Linked DNA regions of Homo sapiens: region 1 is linked to region 2. Evidence: promoter capture Hi-C in human tissues and cell types (Jung and others, 2019). All regions are on one chromosome and are shown on one strand. Each heading gives the region's core, a stretch centred on a gene start or on the middle of the fragment in contact. The rest is flanking DNA. Distances are from core to core; before and after follow the strand shown. Region 1 holds the start of DDB2 (damage specific DNA binding protein 2). Region 2 overlaps LRP4 (LDL receptor related protein 4).

Region 1 (2,738 bases), core at 191-2,690, 340 kb before region 2:
TGCTGCGGCATGGTGGCAGGATCTGTGGGCCAGCCAGCCCCACCCAGAGGCAGTCTGAGTCACATCTTCTGCTAGGACCTGCCAAGCAGAACAGACATATTTTCCTCTCCAATCTCACGAAAGGTTTTTCTGCTGAATTCCCCGAAAGGAAGCCTTGTTTCATTCGGCACGGTTAATCTCTGTCTCATCACCTCCTGCGGCCTTTCCATGTCTGTGTGGTCTCAACGAGCACCAGAAATAAAAAAATGAGTGAGGATTTGGCCCCTTCCCCAAAACACTCCCACAAACAGTAAGTCTGAAGTGAAAGTAAATACAGTCGTGCAGGGTTCCTGAGACCCCAGCCAAAGAAACACACAAGGATAAAGTACAATGCAGAACTCTTCCCAGTTTGGGCTGCAAAACTCGAGATGGGACTGGGTCACAATTTTATAAATCACATATAATGCACAATAAAAAGATTTTAGGGCAGCATGGCAGAAGTCACCGTTTAGGAAAAGAAGGAATAGGAAGGCCTGGAAATGCTCTTAACTAGGTTACTTCTGGGGAGGTAAGTGAAATTAGAATAGCAATAAAGCAACAACTCCTGATCACCAAACTGTATTTGAGGACCCAATCACTATAGGTCCGACGTCTTGACAACCAATTCTTTCTTCTCATGGACAAAAACCACTTGATTAACAAGCCCCAGCTCGTTTTTGAGTGTCTCGAAACTCCTTATAGCCCCAGGTTCAAGCCCCAGTAAACCTCAGAGAATGAGCTTTCTAAGGAGGAAGGAATTGGGGGCTCTCACAACTGACCACCGAGGACGTGCAGCTAACAAGCGTGACTATGAAATCCAGCACACACAGCGCCAGGAAAGGTAGGATTCTCTGAAGCCGTCCTAACTGTGCAAGAACCCTGATACGAACAAGGAATCTGACAAGTCCGTGTGTCTGTTGTTACGGAGCTCATCTGCTTCCTGTTACCTAGCGGGAGAGGTGTTGAAACCTAAACACTCTGGTGTCAAAGGACCTGCAGGTAGAATGCACAGCCGGAGGCACCCGTGACCTGCGCGGGCCTCGGGAGCCTCGGAGCACCCATCCCCCGCTGCAGCCTCCTGCGCGAGCACCCTAAAAGGCGGAAATATTCAAGCAGCAGGCACAGGCAGTACCGGAGCCCTTCGCACAGAGCTTCTTGGCCTCGGGCTCCAGCTCCAGGGGACTCCTGCTCCTCTTGTTCCTGGGGCGTAATACAATCTCGGAGGTCTTCTGGGTTTCTGGGCGTTTCTTGGGAGCCATCGCGTCCTCCGTGTGAAGGGGTACTGTGCTCTATGCGAAGATCATGGAGGGAGGATTGAGAGGCCTCTGGGGAGAAACAAGGCGGGGACTACAAAACTGCGGGGCCACAGGTAGCCGAGCTAAGCCAACTTCCCGCCAAACATGCCCAGGGCTTGTTCAAACCAGCTTGGAGCTCCGGCCCCACCCGTCTCGGAGACCCCGCCCCTTCCTGGAAGGCGGGGGCGCGGGGAGGGGGTGGTGCCAAGGGGCGGTGCCAGCGCTCCCGGGAGGGGCGGGAACTGCGCCAGGGCCAGTGCCAGCCCGGGTCAGCTGACCTCCCTGGAGCAAAGATGGTCCCCGGCTTTATGGATTTTTTTTTTTTTTTTAGCAACAGGGTCTGGCTCTGTCGCTCACTCTGGAGGGCAGTGGGGCGATCATAGCTCAGTGCAGCCTCCACCTCCTGGGCTCAAGCGATCCTCCCACCTCAGCCTCCTAAGTAGATGGGACTACAAGCGTACGCCACCACGCCCGGCTAATTTCTCTCTCTCTCTCTCTTTTTTTCTTTTTCTGGAGAGACGGGGTCTCGCTTTGTTGTCCGGGCCGGTCTTTAACTCCTGGGCTTAAGCGATCATCCAGCCTTGACTTCCTGACACGAACCCTCCTCAAACGCGGCGCTGCCAGGCCTCTGCGGGTCCGGGGAGGAGGCCCGGTGCCAGCCAAGGCTCTGTCTCCCGCCTTGCAATTGGTGATGACGCCCGCTCGGGCTTTGGGATTGGCTGGTCCCTACAGGGTGTAGTTGGGGAGTGGCGGCTTTGTAGAGAGCTAGTGCCTTTCCTAAGTTAGAAGCTGGGCTCTACCAGCGGTCAGCTTTGCAGTCGGATTCCAGAAACTACAGTCCCATCGAATCCAAGCTGCTTCTCTGTGAAGGGAGAATGATTGGAACTCCTTGCCTTTTTTTTTTTTTTTTTTTTTTTTTCCTAGAGGCAGTGTCTCTCTTCCGTTACCCAGGCTGGAGTGCAGTGATGTAATCACAGCTCACTGCAGCCTTGACCTCAAGTTTCACTGATCCTCCCACCTCAGCCTCCCAAGTAGGCTTGCAGACCTGTATCCCCAAGCCTAATTTTTTTATTTTTATTTTTGTAGAGACAAGGTCTTGCTATGTTTCCCACGTTGGTCTGGACCTCCTGGGCTCAAGTGATCCTCCTGCCTCTGCCTCCCAAAGTGCTGGGATTACAGGCATGAGCCACCGTGTCTGGTTCTCACTGCTCTTTTATTTGTTTGGTCGTTGGCTGTTTTTATTTTTTCTTTCTTTCTTTCTCTCTTTCTTTTTTTTTTTTTTTTTTTTGAGACAGGGCCTCTCTCTGTCACCCAGGCTGGAGTGCAGTGGCAGGATGTGGGCTCAATGCAGGCTGGACTTCCTGGACATCGATCCTCCCACCTCAGCCTCCCGAGTAGCTGGGACTACAGGTGCGCGCCGCAACA
Region 2 (2,800 bases), core at 296-2,795:
CGCATGAGCCATAACGCCTGGCTAGTTTTTTTCTTTTTTTTTGGTAGAGACTTCCTGTATTACCCAGGCTAGTCTCAAACTTCTGGCCTCAAACGATCCTTCTGCCTCAGCCTCCCAAAGTGTTGGGATTATAGGCACGAGCCACCATGCCCGGCCCAATATTACTGTCTAATCATAGTCCTTGCCCAATTTCACTACCAATTGCCTCAGTGATGTCCTTTATAGCTCCTCCCACCCCACTTTTTTTCTTTGTTAATCTAGGATCCAATCAGGATCACCCATTGTGTTTAGTAATTACGTCTCTTTTAATTTTTATTTATTTATTTATTTTTAGACACTCACTCCGTGGCCCAGGCAGGAGTGTAGTGCCACAAACATGGCCCACTGTAACTGCGACCTCCTGGCCCAAGGGATCCTCCCACGTAGCTGGGACCACAGGCACCTACTACTGCACCCTAGCTACTCAGGAGCCTACGGGTTTGAGGCCACTCGGCTGATTTTTTTATTTTTTGTAGAGATGGGGGTCTCACTTTGTTGTCTAGGCTAGTCTTGAACTCCTAGGCTCAAGCAATCCTCCTGCTTTGACCTCCCAAAGTGTTGGGTTTATAGGCATGAGCCACCACACATAGCTTTTTTTTTTTTTTTTTTTGAGACTGCAGTCTTGGTGTGTTGCCCATGCTGACCTGGGCTCAGGTGATCCTCCCATCTGAGGCTCCTGAGTAGCTGGAGCTGTGCGCCACCGGGCCCAACTAATCTAGTCTCTTTACTCTCTAATCTGGAACATTTCCTCAGCTTTTCTGTGACTTTATTGACATTTGCATTTTTTGTTTGTTTGTTTTGTTTTGAGACAAGAGTCTTGCTCTGTCGCCCAGACTGGCGTGCAATGGTGCGATCTCAGCTCACTGCAATCTCTGTCTCCCGGGTTCAAGCAATTCTCCTGCCTCAGCCTCCCAAGTAGCTGGGATTATAGGCACCCGCTACCACGCCCAGCTAATTTTTGTATTTTTAGTAGAGACAGGGTTTCGCCATGTTGGCCAGGCTAGTCTCGAACTCCTGACCTCAGGTGATCTGCCCACCTGGACCTCCCAAAGTGGACATTTGCATTTTTAAAGAGTAAAGGCCAGTTATTTTTTATAATGTCTCTCAACTTGGATTTATCTAATGTTTCCTTGTGATTGGATTCAGAGTGTGCATTTGCAGCAGGAATACTACACTAAGTGAAGTCATGTCCTTGAGTTCTCAGTGTGTCTCATCAGTAGACACAGGTGTTGGCCTGTTCCGTTATTGTGATACTTACTGCCATTGTATGGTTAAGGTAGTGTCCACTGTAAAGTTGCTATTTTTTAATTTTGTACTTAATAAGTAATTTGTCCAGAGATACTTTGAGATGATGTGAGTAATAGATGACTTCCAACATCTTCCAATAAAACCATCACACGACCCTTAGAGCCAGGCATGATCAAGTCACAGATTGATAGAGCAAGGCTCAGAGAGATTTTATAAGTAGCTCTTACTGGAGGTCACCCAGTAGGTGTTAGTGGGAGAGCTGCTTTCTGAGTCCACAGTGAGCTCTTTGCCACTGCTCTGTACTGTCAGACTTTGTTGAAGATGACACAGTGTTGGGGCCCTGGCAGGTGCTGATTGGAAGCCAGCTCCCCCACCCATTTGGGCTGACCCTCTATGGAGAGCGCATCTATTGGACTGACTGGCAGACCAAGAGCATACAGAGCGCTGACCGGCTGACAGGGCTGGACCGGGAGACTCTGCAGGAGAACCTGGAAAACCTAATGGACATCCATGTCTTCCACCGCCGCCGGCCCCCAGGTGAGCAGCCCTTGGCTCGCATTGGCTTCTCCGTGGCCCTCCTATGCCCTAGCTCTCCCCATTGAACATCCCCTCCTCTCTACCCAGTGTCTACACCATGTGCTATGGAGAATGGCGGCTGTAGCCACCTGTGTCTTAGGTCCCCAAATCCAAGCGGATTCAGCTGTACCTGCCCCACAGGCATCAACCTGCTGTCTGATGGCAAGACCTGCTCACCAGGTGAGTGAAAGCATCACAGATCTAGATGCAGCCTCTCTGGGAGGGGGCAATGGCTCTCTTCCTTCCTTGCAGATGGGCTCCAATGTGGTCTGAGAAACCATGAGTCCTGCTGCTTCTAGAGGCCCAGGGGAGAGACTCACGGCTTTTAGAAAAGGGGACGGGCCTGGGGAGAGGCCCTGGGGAGCAAGTAGAAAGGACTGGAGGCAGGGTCCAACTAGTTCTTATGATGTCTTCATGCATATTAGATAAAGATGCTCCTTTCTCAAGACACTTTCCTCTCATCTCTTAGTACATTGTCATAATATACTGATTTGGTTGGAATAAGACACTTCTGGCTGGGCACGGTGGCTCATGCCTGTAATCCTAGCACTTTGGGAGGCCAAGGCAGGCAAATCACTAGAGGTCAGGAGTTCAAGACCAACCTGGCCAACATGGTGAAACCTCGTCTCTACTGAAAATACAAAAATTAGCCAGGCATGGTGGCGCGTAATCCCAGCTACTTGGGAGGCTAAGGCAGAAGAATTGCTTGAACCTGGGAGGTGAAGGTTGCAGTGAGCAGAGATCACGCCACTGCACTCCAGCCTGGGTGACAGAGTGAGACTCTGTCTCAAAAAAAAAAAAAAAAAAAAAAAGACACTTCTAACTGCCCAAAATTGGTATAATAAAAACAGAAATGTATGATATCTACAATGTCACAGTACCCTCCTCCTTAGATGTGCCACTTTTGTGAGTGCACAACCTATGTGACAACCTTATT

Evidence for each region. Contacts are between HindIII fragments. The study calls those that stand out against the background at their distance.
Region 1: the fragment with the promoter of DDB2 here is called in contact with a fragment that was not itself captured in region 2 in 1 of the 25 tissues and cell types used here (small bowel).

Annotation. Positions count from the first base shown.
Region 1 is chr11:47,213,676-47,216,413 of GRCh38, reverse strand. It overlaps DDB2 (damage specific DNA binding protein 2), which reads right to left and starts at 1,440. Exons shown (of 10, transcript NM_000107.3): 1 at 1,151-1,440; 2 at 1-78. The coding sequence starts at 1,277. RefSeq lists enhancers at 1,108-1,387, 677-1,876, 1,718-1,957, 1,164-1,999, 2,000-2,738 and a silencer at 1,438-1,647. The HindIII fragment of the contact is 25,797 bases long and covers 1-2,738 here.
Region 2 is chr11:46,878,150-46,880,949 of GRCh38, reverse strand. It overlaps LRP4 (LDL receptor related protein 4), which reads left to right. Exons shown (of 38, transcript NM_002334.4): 21 at 1,635-1,824; 22 at 1,912-2,043. Among named protein-coding and RNA genes, the nearest start is that of LRP4-AS1, 33 kb to the right of the region's middle. The HindIII fragment of the contact is 9,427 bases long and covers 1-2,800 here.